Linked DNA regions of Homo sapiens: region 2 is linked to region 1. Evidence: promoter capture Hi-C in human tissues and cell types (Jung and others, 2019). All regions are on one chromosome and are shown on one strand. Each heading gives the region's core, a stretch centred on a gene start or on the middle of the fragment in contact. The rest is flanking DNA. Distances are from core to core; before and after follow the strand shown.

Evidence for each region. Contacts are between HindIII fragments. The study calls those that stand out against the background at their distance.
Region 2: a fragment that was not itself captured here is called in contact with the fragment with the promoter of AP3M1 in region 1 in 1 of the 25 tissues and cell types used here (psoas muscle).

The regions. Positions count from the first base shown.
Region 1 is chr10:74,147,911-74,154,491 of GRCh38, reverse strand. It overlaps AP3M1 (adaptor related protein complex 3 subunit mu 1), which reads left to right and starts at 3,664. Exons shown (of 9, transcript NM_012095.6): 1 at 3,664-3,737. It overlaps ADK (adenosine kinase), which reads right to left and starts at 3,271. Exons shown (of 11, transcript NM_006721.4): 1 at 3,149-3,271. The coding sequence starts at 3,213. RefSeq lists enhancers at 2,921-3,100, 3,511-3,740. The HindIII fragment of the contact is 9,762 bases long and covers 1-6,581 here.
Region 2 is chr10:74,879,765-74,886,819 of GRCh38, reverse strand. The region is part of intron 3 of KAT6B (lysine acetyltransferase 6B); the gene reads right to left. Among named protein-coding and RNA genes, the nearest start is that of KAT6B, 57 kb to the right of the region's middle. The HindIII fragment of the contact is 7,129 bases long and covers 1,183-7,055 here.

The sequences.
Region 1 (6,581 bases), core at 2,415-4,914:
TTCAAGACCAGCCTAGCCAACATGGCAAAATCCCGTCTCTACTAAAAATACAAAAATTAGCCAGGCATAGTGGTGTACGCCTGTAATCCCAGCTACTTGGGAGGCGGAGGCAGCAGAATTGCTTGAACCCAGGAGGCAGAGGTTGCAGTGAGCCGAGATGGTGCCACTGCACTCCAACCTGTGCGCCAGAGTGAGACTCCAACTCAAAAATATATACAAAATTAAATTAAATTAAGATCTGAGAACTGAGAGGCACAGAGATAGAAAGGACACATGTGAGAGTGTCTAATACAAAGCCTGGACCCCATACATCTCTGCTTCAGTCAGACTATCTGCACTTCCCCAAGAGGCAGCTCTCTCCCAGTTCTGCCACCAAACAAACTTTCCTATAAGGCAGATACCCTACTTCACAGATACCCTACAGTCACAGATGACTGGTTAACTCCTAGTCATCTTTAAGAATACTCAGGTGTCATTTTCCCAAACCCCACTTATTTCCCACCAAGAGGATGGTACCTGTGCCTTACCTCTTTCTCTCTCTATATATATCCAGTTTTTAACACCATGTCTAAAATAGCATGTACTTGAAAGACAAACTGAAGGAAAAGACTTGGCACGTGCTCAACAAGCCTTGGAAGGCACTGTAGCCTCTTAAGAGGCGATCGCTAAAGAAATGAACTTGGATGAGATTTCCAAAGGAGAGAAAAGAAAACTAAGTTGTCTTAAATATAAGTGATCATCATGGAACACCTTCATCTAGGGAGCAGTTCCCAAAAATGTTTCTCCACTTCTTTCATCACAAAATAGCTCGTCTGTAACACAGGAATCATTGCTCCTACCTCATAGGTCACTGGGAGGGTTAAAAGAGATAACATATATAGAGCACATAGTATAATGTCTAGCACTCAATTAACGTTCCCTTCTTTCCCCTAATCCCACGTGAAAACATGTCAGAGCCTGATTCTTTCTTTATAAGCAACTGTTATATGCTGAAAAGCAACCGAGCCTAGAAAAATAATAGATATTTGAGAAAGGCAGACTAGTCTTGTCAGATGCTCCCTCTAGAACAGATTTCTCAACCTCAACACCGTTGACGTATTTGGCCAGATAATTCTTTGTTGTGGGGGTTGTCCTATGTAGCATGTTTAGCAGCACCCCTGAATTCCATCCACTAGGTGCCAATAGCTCTCCCTACCAAAAATATCTTTCTAGACCACGCCAAATGTCCCCTGGAGGGCAAAATTTCCCCTGGTGGAGAATTATTATCCCAGAGCTGACCAAATTCTCACAAATCCCTAAATCTAAATATTTTTCCTGACATCTACAAATATATCTCATTATTTGTTCCCACTGATGCTGCACATTAAATTATGCAAAGTCTTTATAATCCATTCTCCTTAACCAAAACCAGTAGCAATCCCCTGTCAAGCAAGTCATCATAAATTCAGTGTAAATACTCAATGCATTATCACACTTTGAGTCTGAAAGCAAATTAATATAATAAAAGTAATAATAGCCGATCCTAAAATGTCTCCCCACAAAATTAGAGATTTGTCCCAGTACTCAAGTGTCTAATCTTTTAACTTCATGTCTACAGGTGGCACTAAATTCATATTGTATAAAGTGAATTTTAGTTGCCTAAGGAATGCTCTCACCACAGCCTCACAAAGCACCAGGACTGCAGGTATAAGAAAACATGCTCAGCTAGTTCCTATTTCTGTTCCTGTACTAATTGTTTTATTTGGGCTTCAATATCTTCAATTGTAAAATAGGCATAATTCTTGCCTTCCTTTGATCACAGAACTGTCCAACAAGATAATAAATAGGAAAACACAGTGAAAATGGATCAGCATTATATATAATAATTTTTATTAAGGAAAAATCTAAGGAAATCTAAGGGTTATATGTTCAGTAGGATGGTAGGGAAAAGTTGCATCTGTCTTCCAGTTTGGCGAAGGAGGTGCCTTATAAGGAAATACTCTAATAAAGGGCAGAGTAGGGAAAGCACATGCCTTGAACTCAGGTAGGTCTGATTCAAAAGCCGTTGCTTTTTATTCTGCATATAGTTGGAATATTTAAAATAAAAATAGAATATCCTGAGGGTTTTTATTTTAAAGTTTATGTTCTTGGTATAAGGTAGGCACACTAACCCTTTGAGGGTAGTAGGAATACATTAAAGGAACTGGCAAGGATTTGTTCACCCTCCATTCAAAGCAGCATGAACACACCACCAGGCCCCTAAGTGTCCTTTTCTTTTCAATTGTGAGTGATTCCTTCCTTTGGAGGTGAAGAAGAGTGATACTGGAAGAAATGGGATATGTCCTGTTTAATCAGGAGTGTCCTAATAGTTTTAAATCAGTTTGATATGTCTATTTTAAGATGGAAAAAAAAATCGCTGCCTTTCAGCGAACATTTCCAAATCATCAAAGACTGCCTGCTTCACTTTATACTTATTAGGAAGGGATATTTTAACAAATGACTCTTCATAAGTAAAAGTTGCAACATCAATCACATGTGAGGCAGGTGTTAGGGGCAGCACTGTCCCCGTTGCTGCCAAAAAGTGTAAATAAAAAAGAGAAATCAACCTTTCCTATCCATTCATCCAAATGCTGCCCCTGCAAAGCATCGGAGGGGTCTGGGTCCCTGGTAGAGGGTCCTCAAAGGTACGGGCTTTCAGAATGTGCACGAAAAGGAAGGTCAACGTGCCCTTCCGCAACACTCTGAAAAATCCCCAAGAATTCTGACTTTGCCCCAGTGTACAGCAGTTGCCGAGCCTCTTTCCCGCCATCCCCCGGGAAGAGAAGGCGGCCGCCTACAGACGCTGCTCCGGTCCGACCCTCCGGGGTCGCACCAGCCCAGCCTGGGCTTGCTCGCAGGTGGCGCGGTCAGCCAGCTCGGTCCCCCTGCGGGCCACGACTGGCGAAGGGCTGCTGGAGCCGGAGCTGCACCAGACAGGCGGGGACTCAGCCAAACGGAGAGAACGTCTGGCAAGGGGTCGCGGCCAAGCGGGCAGCTGGGGGAGGTCCTGCGTGTTGGCCCCAAGCTGGCAGTGAGAGACACCACCCAGCGTCGGGGCCGTGCAACCCCACGTGGGCCCTGGCTTGCTTGCAGCGCCGTCACCCTCCTCCCCAAGTCCGGCAGCGCTCACCTCAGCGCTTGCGGCGCCTCCACCTTCAGCTTTTTGGGCTTCGGCTCCTCCTCAGCAGCTGCCATCTTCGCGCTCCCACCCCACTTTGGCTCTACAGCCCACCTCTGCCATCCACTCTCTGGTCCCGCCCCCTCTTCGCATCACCGCTTTCTCTTCTCCAAATCCCGCCCCTCCAGACTCCGCCCATTCTGTGCCGCTGTCATCCACAATCATTGGCTCTATCCGTCGGCACCAACAGCGAATGCCCCGCCCATTCCTGACCCCGCCTCCCCTACCATGAGGGACCCCAGACTGCGTTAGGCAGCAGATGACCGCCTGAATCTAGATGGAGAGAAACCCACCATTTTTCTAGGCCCTGGATTATGTAGAAGATTTAGATACTAAGCCTCAAGAGACGTCTTTCCTCTCATTTACGGTCTTCCTGCATATTTAAAATTTCTAATACGGTAGACAGAGTCGGTGTCTTTGAAGCTGTTAATCAGGCAATTTCCTGGGCACTCCAGCTGCGGGTCCTCGCGGCCTTCTCGGCTTCTCCAGCTTCGGTAGGAGAGGATCCGGCGCCGAATCACTGACTGGCACAGGTGTTGGGGTGAGTGTGAGGGGCGGGAAATCTGTGGACTGGGGACAGCTCCAAAACCCGGGAGTAGGCTGAATAGCTGGGGCCCCCGACTCCGATCTGGGCTCTAGGAGCGTCTTTGGTGCTGTTGGCCCGGGCCTCGCTTCCCCCCCACTCCCGGCCTTCCGGGCTTTCTCGCCAGCAAGGCCAGAAGGGAGCGGTCCACCTGCAGCCCAGTGTTCTCAGGCGCCTGAGCCCCGGAGGTCAAGCTTACTGGGTTCCCCCTCTATAGTGAGCTGGAGTACAGACGGCAGGAATCTCAGTCCCAGGTTTCTGCTTTGGAGGACAAAACCCCAAACGGACCTGAGCAGACGTCCTGTTAGCGGGTGGTGCCTGGAAGAGCCTGGGGTGAGGAATGCAGTGAGAAGGGTGTTGCAGTTCTTCAGGAGAGAGGTAACGGGGTTCTAAGCTGAGCAGGTGGCAGTGAGTGTGGAAGAGTGACGGGCGATGTGGCTGTTTGTATTTGGTAGATTTGTTTGAACCTGAAACTTACAGCCTTATGTGTGATTAAGAAGATGGTGCCAGTGACAGGAGGAGGTATTTTATGGAGTTTGAGTTTTATCGAATTTGAAACAGTGGTTTACATGGAGATTGTAGAAAGACTTTAAAAAAAATTATGAGAATTAAGCCCGAAAGACTTTCAAGGTGAGACCCAAAACAGATGAAGTTTCATATAAAAGGGTAAGAAGTATTTTTGTTTAGGAGAAAGTTATCAATGACATAAAATGCTGCAATGGTCAGAGGAGGAAGCTGAAATCAGAATAGGTCGTTGGATTTTATAATTAGAAAGTCATTGAGCTGTTTGAGAGAGATGCTTTAATAGTAACTGAGGAAAGACTGCAAGTGTAGACCAATCCTTCATCATTTGGGGCATGAAGCAAGATTATTGAGAGTGGCAAGGTGGGGGAAAGTTTGGGGTTTGTTTTAAAGAATACAAGATATCTATTTGGGGGCAGGAAGCAAGCAACTATTTGAAGATTCAAGAAAAAGTCTTGTCTCCCAGAAGAGAAGGAAAGGAATGGGATCAAGTTACAAGTGAAAGGATTAATTTGGGAAAGACAGAGGGACACTTTCAATTGACACTATAGGAGAAGTGAAGTGAATGAGGTTAATGAAGAATTATCTTAATTTACGAATCTTGGCCAGGCGCGGTGGCTCACGCCTGTAATCTCAGCACTTTGGCAGGCTGAAGCGGGCGGATCACAAAGTCAGGAGTTCGAGACCAACCTGGCCAACATAGTGAAACCCTGTCTCTACTAAAAATACAAAAATTAGCCAGGTGTGGTGGCACACGCCTGTAGTCCCAGCTACTTGGTAGGCTGAGGCAGGAGAATCCCTTGAACCCGGGAGGCGGAAGTTGCAGTAAGCTGAGACCTCACCACTGCACTCCACCCTGAGCGACAGAGCGAGACTCTGCCTCGAAAAAAAAAAAAAAAAAAAAAAAAAAAAAAAAAAAAAAACCTTACGTATCTTTAGGAAAGCTCTCTTTGCAACAAGATTATATTTTCTTACTTAATCTTATGATTTTTATTTCTAACCATTTAATATAATATACGGCCAGGCACGGTAGGGCTCATGCCTGTAATCCCAGCACTTTGAGAGGCTGAGGTGGGTGGATCACGAGGTCAAGAGATCGAGACCATCCTGGCAAATATGGAGAAACCCCGTCACTACTAAAAATATAAAAATTATCTGGGCGTGGTGGCACGTGCCTGTAGTCCCAGCTACTCGGGAGGTTGAGGCAGGAGAATCGCTTGAACCCAGGAAGCGGAGGTTGTGGTAAGCTGAGATTGCGCCACTGCACTCCAGCCTGGCAATAGAGTAAGACTCCGTCTCAAAAAAAAAAAAAACAAACCAATATACTATGGGCAGATGGAGTGCGGTGGCTCACGCCTGTAATCCTAGCACTTTGGGTGGGTGAGGCGGGAAAATCACTTGAGGCCAGGAGCTGGAAATCAGCCTGGGCAACATAGCGAGACTCCATCTCTACAAAAAATTTAAACATTAGCCAGGCTTTGTGGCATGTGGTTGTAGTCCTAGCTACTCAGGAGGTAGAGGCAGAATGAGGCAGAAGGATCACTTGAGCCCAGGAGTTCAAAGTTACAGTGAGCTATGATTGGTCCACTGCACTTCAGCCTGGGCAACAAAACAAGACCCTATCTCTTAAAAAAAAATACATATACACATACGCTATGGGAGTTCTTTGCAGATTTAAATATTTTTAAGTAGCTCAGTACTGTGTCAATTCATGAGTAGCACATGGTATTTACAGAGAAGAGGACTTCTCTCTCCCTTTGGAAATGACCTCTCTCCCATTACACAGAGAAGGAGAGCCATCATCTGCCTGCAGTCAAGTATACAAACCTTCCCTTCAATCTGAAGAGTAGAAAGTGTTCCTTCTCCTTAGAGAAGGCAAACCCTTTGACCTAGTCTCTCAGTAGCATCCTCTCCTGCTATGTCAGGGTCCTCTTTCCGTTTTTCCCTCTCTCCTATGTCAGCTTTTCCCCCTCTATTCACACCTTTCCTTCAGCATTTGAATGTATTCTTCCTTCACTTTATGAACTGCTGCATTTATTTTCCTGTCTTTTCATCCTCTTCACAGCTAGACTTCTTGAATCTACTCTACATATCTCTATTTTTTTACACTTCTTGCTATTTATTTCCCAGCCCACTGCAATGTCTTATTTCTAGCATTCCACTGAACTACCACCAAAACTATTTTTTTTTTCTGAGATGGAGTCTTGCTCTTGTCGCCCAGGCTGGAGTGCAATGGCAATCTCGGCTCACTGCAACCTCCGCCTCCAGAGTTCAAGTGAT
Region 2 (7,055 bases), core at 3,498-5,997, 730 kb before region 1:
CTGGTTCCTGGGTCAGTGTAATACACTGGGTTATGGATGGGTCAGAGGTTGGTGGGAACACATACCTTCCCTCTCTGCGATACATGAATTATTTAGTCAAGAACATAGCACTTAATGGGCAGGTAAGGTGGAAGTACAGAGTAGGAGCAGATGCAGCCTATGTTTCTGTGGCTTGTCCTTTGCCCCTGGGTTTCCACCTAAGAGCATCAGCCAACTATAACACCAAGCTCAGGTGGGGTCCTCCCAGATGTGGGGCACGGGGGAGCGGAGAGGAAGCTGAATCTTTGCTGTGGCTTTTAAATACTCTGGCTTATCTACTCATCACTATACTTACGTTTAAAGGAATATTTATATACATTAGATACTCCTGGTTGGTGAGTCAAACTCGGCATTTTCAAGAATTCCTCCTCACCTGGGATGCAGGTGGGGGTGAAGAAGGCTCTGTGTCCAGGTGTCCCTGCCTCCAGCTTCCCAATCTTTGGAAAGTCCATCTCCCAGAACTGTGATGGCCTGAGAGGCCTGCTCCAACACACATGAAACTCAGCAGAACATCGCAGGGCATACCTGGGAAAATTCCAATCCCACCTCAACCTTCTCTCAGACAAAATTAATCTTGCCTGTCAGAGCCAAATGTAACCTAATGTTCCCCTGATGTAAACAGCTCCCCCTTCTCCTGTTACAGCCCCAACCATCGTGCTTGCACAAACTGAAATCCTACTGTTTACAGCCTGATGATAACCCAGTTGGCATTCTGTGCTCTAAGCTACTCCCTTAGAAAGAGCTTCCCCTGGCCGGGCGCAGTGGCTCACACCTGTAATCCCAGGACATTGGGAGGCCAAGGTGGGAGGATCACAAGGTCAAGAGATCAAGACCATCCTGGCCAACATGGTGAAACCCTGTCTCCACTAAAAATACAAAAAATTAGCTGGATGTGGTGGCGTGCACCTGTAGTCCCAGCTACTCGGGAGGCTGAGGCAGTAGAATCGCTTGAACCTGGGAGGCAGAGGTTGCAGTGAGCTGAGATCGTGCCACTGCACTCCAGCCTGGTGACAGAGCAAGACTCCATCTCAAAAAAAAAAAAAAAAGAACTTCTCCTTGACCTTTCAAGGCCTCCCCAGCAGGACTCAAAATAGGCAGCCTCACCTAAGTCCCACTCACCTCTGAGTCCTCCACAATATTTACTACACTTCTTTATCCTAGATAACATTTTCTAAATATTTGTTCAATTAATTATATTGGAATTATTTCTGGAATTAATTTTTGCCTTCCCAAAGTTCATATCTAGCATATTTAAGTTTGATAAACTTGCATCTTTATTAAAGAAATCTCTCATTGGCCTAATAGCAATATTATCCAATATCAACTTCAGATTTAACCAGCCTCAACTGGTTAAGAGCTTCAGATGGCATTATACTAAATGGAGAGTTTCCTCAGATTCTAAATCTGTGCTGTCCAACACAATAACCACTAATCACATGCGACTATATAAATTTACATTTTCTCCTTTGGGAGGCTGAGGCCTGGAGTCCAGACCAGCTTGGGCAACATAGAGAGACCCCATATCTACAAAATTTTTTTTTTTTAATTAGCCAGGTATGGTGGTACATGCCTGTAATCCCAGCTACTCAGAAGGCTAAGGCAGGAGAATCACTTGAGCCCAGGAGGTCGAGGCTGCAGTGAACTATGATTGCACCACTGCACTCCGGCCTGGGTAACAGAGCAAGACCTTGTCTCTAAATAAATAAATAAATTAATTAATTAATTAATTTACATTTTCAAGAAAATTAAAATTTTAGTTTCTCAGTCTCAGCCACATTTTAAGTGCTCAATAGCCACATGTGGCTGGTGGTTACCAGACCATATTGGATGGTGCAGATAGAGAAAATTTCCATCATCAAAGAAGGTTCTTTAGGATAGCGCTGCTCCAAATGCATTAAAAATCTTGAAAACTGGCTGGGCACTGTAGCTCACGCCTGTAATCCCAGCATTTTGGGAGGCTGAAGATGGCAGATCATTTGAGGTCAGGAATTCGAGACCAGCCTGACCAACATGGTGAAACCTGTCTCTACTAAAAATACAAAAAATCAGCCGGGCATGGTGGCCCGCACCTGTAATCCCAGCTACCTGGGAGGCTGAGGCAGAAGAATCACTTGAAACCAGGAAGCAGGTGTTGCAGTGAGCCCAGATCACGCCACTGCACTCCAGCCTGGGCAACAGAGTGAAACTCCGTCTCCAAAAAAAAAATCTTGAAAACCCAAAGAATCCTTAGCTTACAGCTAGTATCAGATCTTCAAGGTACCATAATTAAATTTAAAAACACACTGCTCCTTTAATTAAAACAACATAAGGAAACACTCTCACTGATAAAGTAGGGCTTTTATAATAATAGATTTGTCTCATCACAATGAAAAATTTAAACACAGCCTAAGTCTCATCTATCTTCGGTTGCCAAAGCTAATAGCCTATGCAGAGGGCAATGCATTCTTAGAGTTGCATGAATCCTTTCTCCTGACAGATAAAATTTCTGGTTAATAGTCACTAAGGAAAGTAATTTTAACATAACCCTTTATGTCCTGGGCTTGACTAGAGCATACAAACAACACCTAGAAAATTTTCAACCCAGGGATTTCAAAAGCTATGCATACAAAACCAAAAACACCTAAGTCTTCTATGAGTTCAGAATTTGATGCTAGGTGGAAGGTGTCTATGAATATGTGAAGTGAGTATATATGTTGGAATAAAGGAACTGTCTAAGTAGGCTGTGTCTTTTTCTCTCCCATCTCCATGAAATGCCAGTGTCTCTTAGCAGATAAAATACAAACCATAAGGGAGTTAGAGAAAAGAAGTCTTCTATTCCTTTTATAGACTCCTAGGAGCACTGAGACTCATTCAACAGCACATAAGTATGAGTCCTGGAAAGCACAGCTTCAGCACCTCAATAGAAAAGTTTTTCCCCTCACAGTGAAGCAATGAGAGGGCTAAGAAGCACATACTTTTTAAAAATCAAAACAGAATTGGATGAGGATGGGCAGAAGGGTAGGCCTGGGGGCAGAGGACCAGGTCATCCAACAGTCTCCAGGTATAAAGTCTCAATTCTATACATTCATAATGTGTATTTGTGATGTTCCCTCTGGGCTGGCCACCACACTGTATAATCATAAAGTGAGCTTTAATTACCCAAGACCATTCACTAGCTCTTATGAAATGTGTTCTACCTGAAGGACTGCTCAAGAGGGTCACAAATGGCTCATAATTTTTTTCTGCTGGATCTTAAAGCCTACAACTTCCTACTAAAGGAAAGGTCAAAGGAAATACATCTGTAAAATACTGCCAGAGGGGAACAGGAGAAGTAGGGGGCAGCCAACAACTGGGACCTCGGTGATGCCAACCTTAACTGTCATTTCACCCTTTCCCCTTCAAACCATCCCATGGTCCTAAAACCTTTATAATCCTTTTATACTTGACACTATTGTCCCAGAAGAGCTGTTTGTCATCCTGAAATCAAACTGTATCTTCTCCTCTGGGAGCATGTACATTCTGTAATAAGACAGGTAATCCTCAGACAGCGGCAAGCAGAACCGTACTAGGCTCTGATACTGACCTTGACTTTACTGAAAAACGTTAAGTGGTAAAAATTTCATCAAGGTAAGGGAAGAACAAAGGAAGAAACTGTTTCCATGTTTTCCCTTCCATTTTACATGTGCATTATTTCAATCCCATAGCCAATTGTTTGTCATCTCTTTATAAACTTTCGGGAACTCAATAGAAAACAGTACATGAGTCACTCTCTCAAGAGCATACAAATGATGAGGAATACATTCCCATATATATATACTATTATTCACTGAAATTTTTACTTAGCTGTTTTTGATGAAGAAAGCCATATGGTCATGAAAAATACACTATAGGCAAGTTACTGATTCTGACAAAGCTTTCTTAAAATTCAGAAGAAACTATGTGAACCAAACAAACACGAACACATCAACCCTCAGAAAAGATGTTTAAAGAGCAATGCAAAATGTTTTAACTGGACTTTATCAGGCTTCTTAAATACTATAGAATTTCCTTACTGACACATTAGGGAAGAAATTAACTTTTAAAGACAATTGTTTAAGGTAAGCAATCTCACAAAATGTTTATCTAACAGAATCCAGCCATGCTGGCTACAGCATCTCTATTGACATACCTTTAAAAACCACAAATTATTAGGAAATAGGTCTGGAAAAACGTGGCCCATGTAGAAAAAGTCTTTAACAAAGAAAGGTTTATTTCCAAATTACATTAGTATTCACAAGGTGAAACAACTTATTATAGATGCACAGCATTAGTCTCATACACAATAATACCTTTACTAATAAGAGAATATGTCCAAATGTCACATTTCTTTTTTACAAAGTTTAATTACCAGAGGTGAGAACTGATAGGCACAGGAATGAGTTCCAGGGTATCAGATAAGAGGATGGCTGCAGAACGAAATTACTGTAAAATACTAACTAAAAGTCAAACATGCAAGAAAATATAAAATATGCATCAGACAGTTTTAGGATGAGGTTAAGGAAAAGAGTCAGTGAGCCAGATTAATACTAATAGCAAGAGGAAGAATAAGAGGAATCTCTGGTTGAGCAGGGAAGGGGAGACAGCAGGGAAAATCTTGAAGAAGGGGCAGAGCTTTCAGCTCTTAAGTGAAGTTAAAGTGGAAGATGGAGACTCCAGCAGCCCCAGCAGACACATCCACCTCAGGTGGAGGCGCAGCGGGAAGAGCAGGTTCCTTTTGACTGTATTCCCCCATCCCATGGCACCCACCAAGGGTGCTTTCTAGGTCAACCTCGGAAGGAAGCCTCTGGTGTCTAAAACTCCATCCCCAGCCAAGTGTGGTGGTTCACGCTGGTAATCCCAACACTTTGGGAGGCTGAGGCAGGAGGATCGCTTTGAGGCCAGGAGTTTGAGAAGAGCCTAGGCAACATAGCGAGACCCCAGCTCTATAAAATAATTTTAAAAATTAGCCAGGCACAGTGACATGAGACTGTAGTCCCAGTTACTTGGAAAACTGACACAGGAGGATCACTGGAGTCCAGGAGTTCAAAGTTACAGTGAACTACGATTACACCACTGCACTCCAGCCTGGGCAACACAGCGAAACCCCATCTCAATCAATCAATCTCCACCGCCATCTGTGTGCTGGTTAATGGCATCCTTGCAACACAGGGTTTAACACGAAAATTCTGCATGAGACAACATGCAATTGTTTTCAGTATAATCACTCAAAAAGTATCAATGAATGGTTTTAGATTCCTGTGTTTCAACAGAGGGTGGAGCACAGAAGGCATGGGGTGTTTGGAGATAGCCAGAAGCCAAAGGCAGGAGGCAAAGGGCAGTGAAATCACCACTACTGAGTGATGTACAGGGTACAGGCCAGCACCTTACTTTATACAGATTACCTCAGTGAAGCCTCACAACAACCTTATGGACGAGGTGAAAGGAGCCAACTGGGGACAACTCTGATCCTTATAACCCCCAAATCTTAGAAAAACGAGGCTGTCCAGTGAGAGTCCAACTATAAAACCAACAGGGCATGTTAGAGACACAGCCTCCTTAAGGAGGCTTAAAGATGGTTGGGCACAGTGGCTCACACCTATAATCCCAGCACTTTGGGAGGCCGAGGCAGGCGGATCCCCTGAGGTCAGGAGATGGAGACCAGCCTGACCAATATGGTGAAACCCCATCTCTACTAAAATGACAAAAATTAGCTGCACCTGTAGTCCCAGCTACTCCAGAGGCTGAGGTAGGATAATGGCTTGAACCTGGGAGGTGGAGGTTGCAGTGAGCCAAGACTGCACCACTGCACTCCAGCATGGAAGACAGAGTGAGAGTCCGTCTCAAAAAAAAAAAGAGAGAGTAAGATAAGGCCAGGAACAGTGGCTCACGCCTGTAATCCCAACACTTTGGGAGGCCAAGGCAGGAGGATTGCTTGAGCCCAGGAGTTCGAGACCAGCCTGGCCAACATGGTGAAACCCCGTCTCTACTAAAAATACAACAATTAGCTGGGCATGGTGGCGTGCGCCTGTAATCCCAGTTACTTGGGAGGCTGAGGCAGGAGAATTGCTTGAGCCTGGGAGGTGGAGGTTGCAGTGAGCCGAGATTGCGCCACTGCACTTCAGCCCAGGCGACAGACCAAAACTCCATCTCAAAAAAAAACATCAGTAAGACACACCTGAAGACCAGCAATTCCACTGCTAGGTATACAGCCAAGAGAAGTAAAAACGTGTCCACACAAAAATATGTACACAAATGTTCATAGTACTACTACTCATAATAGCCAGAAAGTAGAACCATCAATGTCTAATGAATGAATGAAATAAAATGTGGTATATCCATACAAAGAACTATTATTTGGCAGTTATAAAGAATGAAGTACTGATACATACTACAGCTTAAAAGAACTTGAAAAATTATGCTCAGTGAAAGAAGCCAGTGATTTTTAAAAAAGGCCACATACCATAGGATTCCATTTATATGACATGTCTAAAATACGCAAAGTTATAGAGACAGAAAATAGATGAGTGGTTGCCACAGTCTAAAGGAAGCAGGAAATGGGCAGTGATGCTAATGGGTATAGGATTTCATTTTGGGGTAAGAAAAATGTTCTGGAATTAGACAGTGGTGAATGACTTTGTGAACATACTAAAAACCACTGAATTACACACTTTAAAAAAGTAAATTTTACGATAACGCAAATTATGTCTCTTTTTTTTTAATCTACCTTTATTTTTATTATTATTTTTTGAGATGGAGTCTCACTCTGTCGCCCAGGCTAGAGTGCAATGGCACTCACAATGGATCTCAGCTATAGGTGCCTGTCACCATGTCCAGCTAATTTTTGTATTTTTAGTAGAGACGGGGTTTCACCGTGTTGGCCAGGCTGGTCTCAAACTCCTGACCTCAGGTGATCTGCCAGCTTTGGCCTCCCAAAGTGCTGGGATTACAGGTGTGAGCCACCATGCCTGGCCAGATCTACCTTTAGACAATAACGTATCTAAACACTGTCCATTAGAAGG